Linked DNA regions of Homo sapiens: region 1 is linked to region 2. The links are contacts of gene promoters, found by promoter capture Hi-C in human tissues and cell types (Jung and others, 2019). All regions are on one chromosome and are shown on one strand. The core of a region is centred on a gene start or on the middle of the fragment in contact, and the rest is flanking DNA. Distances in the headings are between cores, read along the strand shown. Region 1 overlaps CREBRF (CREB3 regulatory factor). Region 2 holds the start of NKX2-5 (NK2 homeobox 5).

Region 1 (6,164 bases), core at 3,383-5,882, 170 kb before region 2:
ACAGCAAGGCTTCTAGCATCCTAGTGGTATGGTATAAATGAGGTGGACTCATGCAGTTTTTGTTGTTGTTGTTTGAGACAGGTCTTGCTCTGTCACCCAGGCTGAAGTGCAGGGGCACGATCACGGCTCACTGCAGCCTTGACTTTCCAGGCTCAAGCAGTCCTCCTGCCTCAGCCTCCTGAGCCTCCTGACTATCTGGGACTACAGGTGCGCACCACCACACCTGGTTAATTTTTTTTTTTTTTTTTTTTTTTTGAGACAGAGTCTCGCTCTGTCGCCCAGGCGGAGTGCAATGGCACAATCTCGGCTTACTGCAACCTCCACCTCCCGGGTTCAAGCGATTCTCCTGCCTCAGCCTTCCAAGTAGCTGGGATTACAGGGATGTGCCACCATGCCCAGCTAATTTTGTATTTTTAGTAGAGTCGAGGTTTCTCCATGTTGGTCAGGCTGGTCTTGAACTCCCCACCCCAGGTGATCTGCCTGCCTTGGCCTCCCAAAGTGCTGGGATTACAGGTGTGAGCCACTGCGCCTGGCCCACCTGGCTAATTTAAAAAATTATTTGTAGAGAGAGAGTTTTACTATGTTTCCCAGGCTGGTCTTGAACTCCTGAACTCAAGTGACCCTCCTGCCTCAGCCTCCCAAAGTGTTGGGGTTACAGGTGTGAGCCACTGTACCTAGCTGTACAGTTTTTGAACTGCTTTTTAGTAAGGTTTTCATCTTTACCTTTGAATCCTCTACTAGAGTTGCCCATAGACTAGGAGAGGAGACACACATTGCAGCCCAATGTTACGATGGTTTTTCAGAACAAAATGTTCTGAAATATGGAAGAAGGACTGCTAACTCTGCCTGGGGAAAGTTGAATATTCATTGAAAAAGTGGTGTTTGAACTTAGTTTTGAAGATTAGTGAAGGAGGCATTCTAGTACAGCTGAAGTATAAAAGATGTGTAGTGTGGGGTTGGGTATGAGATGGTTTGAGCTAAGGCAGAGGTGGGAGGGAGAATGGAAGAGGAGGAAACTGATGTGTAAGATTTAGGAGGAAATAGCTTTTTTTGCTTTCACTTTGTCCTCTAATTCTCTTCAGTCTGTTCTATGCTGTCAGGTCTCCAGTCTCTTTTCCCTGTAGCTCCCTGTACCTCTGACTTTGGTTGATTGGTTTTTTCCCCTAGTGTTCCATTTTTCTTTTAGTCCCACCTTTTCTAATGTGTTGGTACTAAAGTACCTTTCATTCTGACTCTATTTGTCTCTTGCGTTTATTTCACCTCCCACCCTCCCTCCCTCTCTCTCTTTATTCCCTTTGGGTTATATTTCTTTCCTTTTCTTTTCCTTTTTCTTCTTCTTCTTTTTTTTTTTTTTTAAAGACAGGATGGTGCAGTGGCACAGTCATGGTTCACTGCAGCCTTGACCTGGGGCTCAAGTGATCCTCCCACCTCAGCCTCACGAGTAGCTGAGACTACAGGTGTGTGCCACCATGCCCAGCTAATTTTTTTTGTAGAGACAGGGTTTCCCCACATTGCCCAGGCTGGTCTTAAACTCCAGGGCTCAAGCCACCCACCCACCTTGGCGTCCCAAAATGTGCGATTACAGGCGTGACCAACCGCACCTGGCCCCTTTGGGTTTCTCTTTGCCCCTACCTTTCCTTTTTATTTGCTTTATTTTATTTTTTATTTTTTTTGAGATGGGGTTTTGCTGTGTTGCCCAAGCTGGCCTCAAACTCCCGGTGTCAAACAATCCCATCTCAGCCTCCTGAGTAGCTCAGGCTGCAGGCGTGTGCCACCTCTCATTATCTTTTATTTAAAAGCAAAACAAAATAAATTCTTGCGCACTATCTGCTTATTTTACATGTAAATAGCAAAATAAGCTGATTCCCTCTTGGGAAATCTTGTAAGATCAACTAGCTTTTGATACCTGTTCAAAGACTAATTATCCATTTCTGTGAATTTCTTTTTATGAAACATTTTCCTTTGTATTCAAAGATGCTACTTCTTCAAAGGCCACAGTGTAGAATGTGACTGCCTATGTGCCCTGTTTTCTATTTCTTATGCACCTACAAATTGTTTGATAACAAAGTCCAATTCACCTTTTTCCTAAAGCTTTTCCAAACTTTCCCAGGTAGTAGTATTCTCGGTAGTTGTCTATTATTTTGTAAACACCTCTTTTTAAAATTCAGCTTTATTGAATTATAATTTATGTAAAAGAAAATTCAACCAATTTTGAGTTTTGACAAACACATGCTGTCGTCTAACCACTGTTATATCTCTAACATTTTTATCACCACAGAAAGTTCCTCATGCCCCTTTTGTTCAGTTCTCCTGCACTCGCCCTTGGCTCCAGTCACTGATTTGCTTTGTATCACTATTGTTTTGTCTTCTCTGAAATTTCATATAAATCTTTTGGTAGAATGTGTTGTCTTTTGAGTCTGACTTCTTTTAGTTAACATTGATTTTGAGATACTCATATTGTGTCGTATATTCATTGAATCTTTTTTTTTTTTTTTTTTTTTTTTTGAGACAGGGTCTCATTCTGTTGCCCAGGCTGAGTGCAGTGGCGTGATAATGGCTCATTGTATCCTTGACCTCCTGGGCTAGAGTGATCCTCCTTCCTCAGCCTCACGAGTGTCTGGGACTACAGGTGCCATCATCATGCCTGATTAATTTTTGATTTTTTGCAGAGATGGGGTTTTGTCATGTTTCCCAGGCTCGTCTGGAACTTTTGGTTGCAAGCAGTCCTCCTGCCTTAGCCTCCCAAAGTACTGGGATTACAGGTGTGAGCCACCTTTCTCAGCCTGAGCCACCGTGCTCGGCCTGAGCCTTTGTCATTGTATGGACATACCACAATTTATCTGTTTATCAGTGGGTAGACATTTGCATTGCTTCCAGATTTTAGGCTATTATAAATAAAATGGCTTTAAATATTCATGTACAAGTCTTTTAGATATCTCTTTTAACATTCATTACATTTTATTTGGAAGTTGAGTTGCAGAGCTGTCAAGACTGAACACCCAACATTCATAAATAGGCATTTTGCTAGTTCTGTGGTTTTGAGCATCTTTCAGCTTAGATTCATAATCTGTAAAATGGGACTGGGTGGAGATTCAAGCAAGCTAGAGAGCACAGGCCAATTTAAAGAGGATACCTCTTTTTAGTTCAAGTGATCATCTTTCTGGGAATGTATACCCAATGTCAGATCTAATTTTTTCCCCCAAAAGAGTGGTATTTGAGATCAGACATCAAATTTTATATGAAATTTCATGTGAAATTTAAATACTGGTAGTTACAATTTAAAAAACACTAATGCAACTGATTTGCAACTGAACACAACTGATTTGTGGGCGTTGATTTCTCACTGCAGTACAGTTTGAGACCTTGGCTTTAAATCTTCAGTTAATTGGCCGGGTGCCGTGGCTCACACCTGTAATCCCAGCACTTTGGGAGGCTGAGGCGGGTGGATCAAGAAGAGGTCAGGAGATCGAGACCATCTTGGCTAACGCAGTGAAACCCCATCTCTACTAAAAATACAAAAAATAAGCCGGGTGTGGTGGCGGGCACCTGTAGTCCCAGCTACTCGGGAGGCTGAGGCAGGAGAATGGTGTGAACCCAGAAGGTGGAGCTTGCAGTGAGCCAAGATCGCTCCACTGCACTCCAGCCTGGGCGACAGAGCGAGACTCCACCTCAAAAAAAAAAAATCTTCAGTTAATTTTGTCTTCTGTTTTAAAATGTATATCCTCCCAGTAGAGTGCACTTGTTAGGTCCTTTTTACCTTAGTTTTATTAGCATAATAACTTGCTGGTTGTCAAAATTCCCAAGTTAAAAACTAACGAGTTACTGTAAATTTTATTCTTTTGTCTGATTGGAAGGATATTAAGAATACTGACTGCCTGATGGAGGAGTGGAACTAGGTTCAGGTTACTCTATGTACTTCTCCTTCTCTGATAGCTGCTGATTATATTCAGTGCTATGTTTTCTCAGCAGTTGGAATAATCTGCCTCACTTGTTTGATTTATCTCAACACTTTTGAGACAAGTATGGTATAAACTCTGTGTGTCTCTTTATTAGAAACTATGCAAGGTGTTACAGATATACATACAAATTTTATATGACTCTGTTTCATATGGCTCAGATTGTCCAGAGCCATTTGGTGAAGCCAGTATAATGAACTATGAAAAAGTGATAAATTATATGTAATTGTTTGAACAATAAAGAGCAATAATCTTTCTAAAGAGGCCTTTTCCCCTTTATCTGCCATTTCTTTATTGTGTATAGAGATGACTAGTTTGCAGCTTTATGAATGACTTTGTGAGTCCAGAGATTCTTTTGCTGATTAAACCAGCATAATTGACATACACCCTCATAAACCTGGGGGCAAGGGTGTTAAGTGTCGTGTGTTGCCTGAGTATCCCATATTCACCCTGGTTCTAGCTTGGTGGAATGTGGAATTTAGACAATTTAGGATTTTGAGTGGGCCAGGCGCGGTGGCTCACGCCTGTAATCCCAGCACTTTGGGAGGCCGAGGCAGGCGAATTGCCTGAGCTCAGGAGTTCGAGACCAGCCTGGGCAACATGGTGAAACCCCATCAGTACTGAAAAAAAAAAAAAAATTAGCTGAGCGTGGTGGCGTGCACCTGTAGTCCCAGCTACTCAGGAGGCTGAGGCAGGAGAATTGCTTGAACCTGGGAGGTGGAGGTTGCAGTGAGCTGAGATCACGCCACTGCACTCCAGCCTGGGCGACAGAGGGAGACTCCGTCTCAAAAAACAAAAAAAAAGAAAAGGATTCTGAGTTGAGTTTGGTTTTATACCTTAATAGCAGCAACATCCCAGGAGTATCACATACCAAGGAATAGATCTGAGAATAAAAATAGCCACCATTTATTGAGTGTCTGTTTTGTGCTAGGGCTAGATACTTTATATGTTATTTTATTGTGAATCACAATATCCCCACAAAATAATGGGGAATTCTTGCATTTATACATAAAGTAAGGCAGATGAGAGTCTGGAATGAAATTCTTTTTTTTAAATATATTTCTTTTTTTTTTGAGACAGAGTCTCACTCAGTTACCCAGGCTGGAGTGCAGTGCCGCAATCTCTACCTCCCGGGTTCAAGCAATTCCCCCATCTCAGCCTCCTGAATACCTGGGATTACATGTGCGCCACCACACCCAGCTAATTTTTGTATTGTTAGTAGAGATGGGGTTTCACCATGTTGGCCAGGCTGGTCTCGAACTCCTGGCCTCAAGTGATCCACCCAGCTTGGCCTCCCAAAGTGCAGGGATTACAGGCGTGAGCCACCATGCCTGGCCATGAAATTCAAAATATTCACTCACAATGCATAACCTTTTACCTAGAGTTTGTTCCTCATAAAGCAAGCTTTTTAGGAATGTTAGAGCCAAAGTGGCACCGAGCTTTTCTCAGTGTTAAAAGAGATGACTGCAAAACCATGTTCAAATAACCTCTGTACTGGCTATTATGTAGTTTATGCTGGTGGTATAGCCTGCTTCACAGTAGGAAGGAATTTGAATATATCTCTAGTATATTTCATGCTGCTTTTGAAAAGGTGCCAAATCTGAGAAAGGAGGAAGGAAACAATTTTTTTTTTTTTTGAGACGGAATCTCTCTTGTAGTCTAGGCTGGAATGCAGTGGCGTGATCTCGGCTTACTGTAATCCCGAGTTCAAGCGATTCTCATGCCTCAGCCTCCTGAGCAGCTGGGACTACAGGTGTGTGCCACCACGCCTAACTAATTTTTGTCTTTTCAGTAGAGATGGTTTCGCCATGTTGGCCAGGCTGGTCTTGAACTCCTGATCTCAAGTGGTCTGTCTACCTTGGCCTCCCAAAGTGCTGGGATTATAGGCAGTGAACCACTGTACCTTGCCCCTACAGTAAATTTTGAAGAAGAGTTCAAATCCTTGCTAACAACAGCATCAAAGTTGTTACAGTGTGTGAAGAATGTGTGGTGTCACTGGAATCCTGCTGTGTGCTCCAGTGCATTCTCACTTGCACCACTGCCTGTTTTTATGCCGCTGCCATTAATTGTACTGTTCTCTTTTTAACATTTTATAGATTTCTGCAGAACAGCTTAGAAAACAAAGTGATTCTTTAAAACTAAAATCTTTAACATCCTGCATAAAATATTTTGTTTTACTATGGTGAGTTTATCTTCCTGCTTTGTAGT
Region 2 (5,856 bases), core at 278-2,777:
AGGGAGTGTTGGTTTGGTGATCGGAGGCTCCAGCCTGGCCGCAGCAGGGTTTGCGCAGTGTCCAAGAAGCTGCGGGTGGGCAGGCGGCCTCGGAACCTGCCTTGCTGGCTTCCTCGAATTGGTAGCGATCAGTTCTAGCCGCCGTGCCCGCCCGAATTTGTTCCCAGGCCTCTGCTCCTCAACAAACCTATGAATTCTCTCCCGGCTGGCAGCGGCCCTTCGCCCAGCGCTTCGCCCAGCGCCTGCGGCCTCCCGGGAATCGCCCGGGCTCCTGCCTTGGGCTGGGGGGTCTCCCAGAAGGCCCCTTTCTGCAGCGGGGCCGGCCTCCCTCCCCGATCCTGGGATGGCCTGCGGGATGATCCCGCACTCATCTCGTCCACTCCCTTGTGCCCGCGGTAGCGCAGCATTTCCTAACTTTTCCACGAGGGAACCTCTCCGCCCTGGCCGCGCCGGCAAGTTGTGCTGAAAAAATAAAGTGAAGTCAGATTCCTGAGGGTCCGCAGTATCCCATTTTAAAATCAAGGCCCTCGATCCCAGACTCCACTTTCCTGGCGCAAAGAAAGAAAGGCACCAGAAACCCGGGTCGTGGGTGGGCTGCAGAAAGAAGGTCCAGGACCCTCCTCCGATTGTACGCAAAAGCTGTCTGGTGAGCAACATTTCAATTTCTGTTTAGCGGTTCTCATCAGATCTTTAAAAAGATTCGTAAATCCAAAGGAGATTTAAAAACAGAGATTATCTGCTTGTCTCTCTGTTCTGTCTACCATAAACCGATTTCTCAACTTCCTACCAGACCCAGGAGCAGAGCCGAAGCCGCCCGGGGCTTTGTTAGGCCGGGGGGAAACGTTTTTTGGTCTCTTGCTTCTGATCCTTTCAATCCGGCATTTCCTCTGAACCTCCGATTGGACGCGGGGCGCGGGAGCCTGGCGACAACACCAGGCATCTTACATTCTGAACCCCCCGCCGCAGCCCAGCCCTCGGCCCAAGGGCGCGTGTCTCCTCCTCCTGGCCCTGAGTTTCTTGGGGACGAAAGCGACCCAGGAGGGGAGAAGGGGGCCTGTGTTTCCTCCTCACCTTTCTTTTCGGCTCTAGGGTCCTTGGCTGGGTCGGGGTCGCTGTAGGCACGTGGATAGAAGGCGGGGGCGGCGGGAAAGGCAGACGCACACTTGGCCGGTGAAGGCGCGCGGCCCAGCTCTGCGCGCAGCTCTGGGAGGCCCGGCGCAGCCGCCTCGGGCCCAGCGTAGGCCTCTGGCTTGAAGGCGGCCAGCATGCAGGAGGAGGGCGCCAGGGTCGCCTCCAGGCGGGCAGAGAGCTCTCCGGCGGCAGCCAGGCTGCGCTGCTGCTGTTCCAGGTTTAGGATGTCTTTGACTGAGAAGGGCGTGGGCGTGAGAGCAGGGCTGGGGAACATGGTGGCAGCGCCAGTCTCACAGCGCCAGGTGGGCGGCAGAAAGCGGCGCTGCCCACGGCCCCTGGCAGCTTCCCTGCATGGTGCCGCCGCCCGCCCGCGCACCCGTCGGCCAGCTCTGGATGTGTCCGGGCAGCAGGTAGCGCTGAGCACAAGGGGCAGGAGAGGCGGGACCAGGCCAGAGGAGGGGGACTCAGCCTGCCATTGGGCCAGGGGCCTCGATGACAGGAGCGATGAGCAGTTTCGTGTCACCTAATATAGTCATACGGCAAAAAAAAAAAAAAAAAAAAAAAAAAAAAAAAAAAAAAAAAGCCCTGCCCAGCTTTTTTAAAGGGGCCACGACGCATTTGGAAGGGTCTCCTTTTGCTCCTGCAGCCTGCGTTTGCTCCCTAATGTGAGCCTGAAAAGCCTACCAGAGGCATGCAGAGTCAGGCCTCTGGGCAGGGCTGGATGGGTGTGGGTTTGAAGAAATATTCCTCAGCACCCAAACCAGCATGGGAGAGAGAAGGATGGGGTGGGAAGCGGTGGGGAGGAGAGTGATTTGAGGAAGGCTTTATTACTGAAGGTGGTGGGATGAGGGAGAGTCTGAATAGGAAGAGAAGCCTGGAGGACAGGGCTGGCTTTGGGGATAGCAGCAGGGCGAGATTCTGGACAATTCGGGGGTTTGGTTTGGCTTGGCCTACAGGGTCAGTCATGCCGCAGGCTCTGGGTGCTTCTGGGCGAGTCAACGAAAGTAAGGGCAAGGTGAGTGATGGCCAGGTGGGGTAGGAGTTGCTGCCTCCTACAGTAGTGTTATGCACAGCACAACTCCAGGGGGCATCAGTCACTGCCAGTACCCTCCCAGGGAAATGCCTCTCCCCTTAATAATGAAATAAATCAGGAATCCCAGCTGGTAAGCTCAGCTTCCCAGGAGACACCTGTCTTGTGGAGTGCCCCAGCTACCAGCCACCTTGTTTCCCCTGTTTGGAGGCCATCGATCCCACCTCCCTCCTTCCCGTGCCCTCCCTGCCTGGCAGCAAGGCCCTCAGGCTTCTGCCAACCTCGAGGTTTCAGGGTCCTAGCCCAGGTTTAGCTCTCAGGGAGGCGGGGCTCCTCTGAGCCCAGCTAGGCCAGGATTTCTCTGAGGCCTCTGGGCCGGACTTCCAGTGGGGCACCCCTGCGGCTCGGTCAGGCGCGTGGGGGAAGGGCAGGGCAAGTGGGGTGATCATGATCATTTTTAGCCCAGGGTCAGTAGAGTAGGGCACAGAAGTCAGACAAATCTGCCAGAGTTTCAGGAGCGCCAGCTACATGGCCAGATCCTGCCCGGGTGGCCTCATTTCTCTGGGTCCCCGCACTCCTTGGGAGGTCTGATGAAAGCTTGGGGTCTTCTCCATTCCCCAGAACACTGCAGAGAGGAGTTTTATTTTGCTTACAATTCAGGAGTCCGGGCAGGCAGAGCGGGCCCAGGTTAAGGACGCCTTCTAGAGCTGGGGATGACAGGATTTGTCAGTGGAAAAGCGTTGGCTTCTCACGGCCCTAGCTGGTACAGGGAACCGCGGGCGGGAAGCTGGGCGGGACGCGTGGACTTGCTGAGAATGGGGATGTGGAGGGCTTGGCTCTTTGCGGAGTGCGGGTTGGCAAGAGGCGCTTGGAGTAGAATAAAGGCGGCGCAGGGCCAAAAACTACCTAAAGACACAGCTCCCGCAGGCGCGCCCAAGGTGCGGAGGAAACGCTCCATGTATGGGGACAAAATAGTGTCTGTCCAGAACGTACATCTTGGGTGCTCAAACCCGACAGTGTGCCGTCTGAGACGCCGACGCAAGTGAAGTCAAGCATTGGCCTGATGTTGGGACTTTTCCTGTCCCTCATCAAAGCCACACTCCCAGGACCTGGGGCCTCCATGCTGGGGAGAGAGGTGAGCCCCGCAGGGCAGCCCAGGAGGCGCGCAACGCCCTGACCCCGGCTTCTAGGCGCCAGCCGTCAGTAACAGGCCTGGGCTGCCACGCCGAAATCACGCCTCGAGTTTCTGAGCCAGGGACTACTGGGGGTCTGGAATTGTTAGTCTAGTCTGTGGAGGATGCCTTTTCTTAAATGTGGGGCGTTCAAGGCCCAGGAAACCTCGTCCCCCCACCTCTTCACCTCCCAACCCAAATTCTCCTTGGACGGAGCTGCATGTCAGCGGCCTTGCGGCCCTTCCTCGCCTGGACTTTTGGCCACGTTACCGTTATGGCTGTAAATTAACCTAGCTTGGGGGCCCGCCTTGCCTTTGAAGATTGTTTTCGAGCGCGGGCGGGGGGGGGTGTCGTTGGAGAGGATGCCTATCGCCGAGGCGGTGACGTCTGGCAAACGAGCCACATCCGATTCAATTAAATGTCTCGCTGAAAAGAGCTCGGAACGAGGGTCCTGGGAGCGCTGTTAAGTGAATCTGCTGGCCAGGCGGCTCGCGATGACAGTTTGAAAGATTAGTGTGAGCGGACGCCTGAAATATTACCGTTTAATGGGGGACATCGAGGCTACATCCGGGATCCCTGTTTTTAGTAAGGTTTTTTTTTTTTTTTTTTTGAGAGCTCTGGAGAAAGAAAAAAATTAGCATTGCCCTTGCAAATCAAGGTGGCAAGGATTTATTTCCTATTTTCGGGTAAGGGGGCTTCCTAGAACTGTCAGTCCTGTGGGTCAGGTGTTACAAAAAGGGAAGGAAAAAAAACTCTCCCTATTTGAACAAGATCAGTGACTGTTACACTCTCTATGCTCTTTGTGAATCGGGTAATGATTTCTCTTGGCTTCCAAAAAGGTCTTGGTGTTGCAGGAGAGAGGAGATGGGGCAAAAACGGACAAATACGTGCAAAATAGAAATTGGGGCGACCCATGCTGGTCTCCTTAGAGGAAAGTCCGAGAGCCATTTGCAGCTTTTCTTTCCAGTCCTCACTGTTTCCGAGTGAGTTAAAAAAAAATCCCTCTAAATAGATCTAAATAGAAATTGCAATAGTTGGGGGTTGGGTGGGAGGAAACTTGATTCTCTGGCCCCCAACAGGGACACATCTTTTTTTCCCAAGGGCCGCTGACCCAACCTGGCCGCCTCTCTGCGCCGCACTTTGACCAAACTAGCAGGACAAACAAACAGCCTTCAGCCTAGAGAAAGGCAGAGAGAGACAAAAGGAGAGAGAAGAGATCGAAAATCTATCTGTGTATTTCCTTGACTTTTAAAGAGTTGGTGCTTTAAGATAATCCAAATTCCAGGGTGGCTCGAGCGCATTCTCCGTGAATAAATTATTATTAATTGAAAAGCGATCGGCGCAGCCGGAGCCGGCCCCCCTTTCGTGCAATCAGCAGGGCTGGTCGCAAAAGGTATATATGATTAATTGAAAGATAAGCTGGAACTATCACCGGGAATGTCATTAATGCGCTGGGGAGACGTCCATTGGAGACAGGCGGCGTTATCCGCGGCTTTATCTTCAACAACGCCTCGCTCTCGGCCCGCGCGGGGGAAACAGATGGGAGTTTCTGTCTGGGACGCTCGCCCCATGTTTATATTTTGGGAAGAATCGCAACTCGTGGGAGTCCCCGGCTGGCCCCCTGATAAATGAACATTAGCACTTTTTCGGACTACTGTATCAACAAAGGGGCTGCGGCGCTGCAATAATTGGCGAGAAAGCAAACAGAGGGCCGAGAGCGCGACTCTGCTCTTCGTCCGGCTGATGGATGAGCAGCTCCGGCTGCGCGCCGGACTCCCGGCCTCGGCCTCCGCCTCCGCCTCCGCCTCCGCCTCCGCGCTGGGCCCCTCCGCCGCCCGGCTTCCTTCCTGGCCGGGAGTTGGGGGCGGGGGGCGACTCTGAGGGCCGCCGACCTCGCCCTTGGCTCCGGAAGAGTCCAGGCGGCCTCCGCGGCACCGGATTTTTCCTGCCTCGGGACTCGCCTCATTCAGGTGGCTCAGCTGGCACCAAATCCTTCTCATTTCCACGCTTGTTCAGTGCCCACGGGGTGTGCCAGGCGCTCTCACGGATCTCGTCACGGATCCTCTTATTCCGACTGCAGGCCTGAGGAGAATGAGGTTCAGAGACGTGGAGTAAGTTGCTCAGGGTCACACAGATGGGAAAGGACAGTGTCAGGGTGTTAGGATTCGAACACACAGCTGACTGCACAGCTGAGACTGTTTTCTTTTATTACACGTCGCTGCGCCCAAGACCGTACCAACTGGAGGAAGAGCAAGACCCCCACCATCACCCCCCACCCCGCAGCCAGGGGAGAGGACCAGGCTGTTGGATTTGAGATGCCAGGTCTCCCCAACCTTCATAGACAAGGGAGATTTCCTGCATAAAGTTCATTTGAGAAAGAGAGGGGGAGAGAGGAATTTAACATGCGTTCATTTCACTTCCGCCTTCCCCTCCCCTCGCTCTCCCACTTTTCCTTTCCCTTCTCCCTTCCCTCTCCTATTTTGATAACAGCTTTATCGAGATATAATTCGCATACCATACAAT

The links. The method cuts DNA at HindIII sites, captures the fragments that hold promoters and counts their contacts. A contact is called where the count stands out against the background at its distance.
Region 1: a fragment that was not itself captured here is called in contact with the fragment with the promoter of NKX2-5 in region 2 in 1 of the 25 tissues and cell types used here (bladder).

Annotation. Positions count from the first base shown.
Region 1 is chr5:173,064,329-173,070,492 of GRCh38, forward strand. All of the region lies in intron 1 of CREBRF (CREB3 regulatory factor), which reads left to right. Among named protein-coding and RNA genes, the nearest start is that of CREBRF, 11 kb to the left of the region's middle. The HindIII fragment of the contact is 7,444 bases long and covers 911-6,164 here.
Region 2 is chr5:173,233,679-173,239,534 of GRCh38, forward strand. It overlaps NKX2-5 (NK2 homeobox 5), which reads right to left and starts at 1,528. Exons shown (of 2, transcript NM_004387.4): 1 at 1,072-1,528. The coding sequence starts at 1,405. RefSeq lists enhancers at 1-207, 5,024-5,597. The HindIII fragment of the contact is 11,596 bases long and covers 1-4,534 here.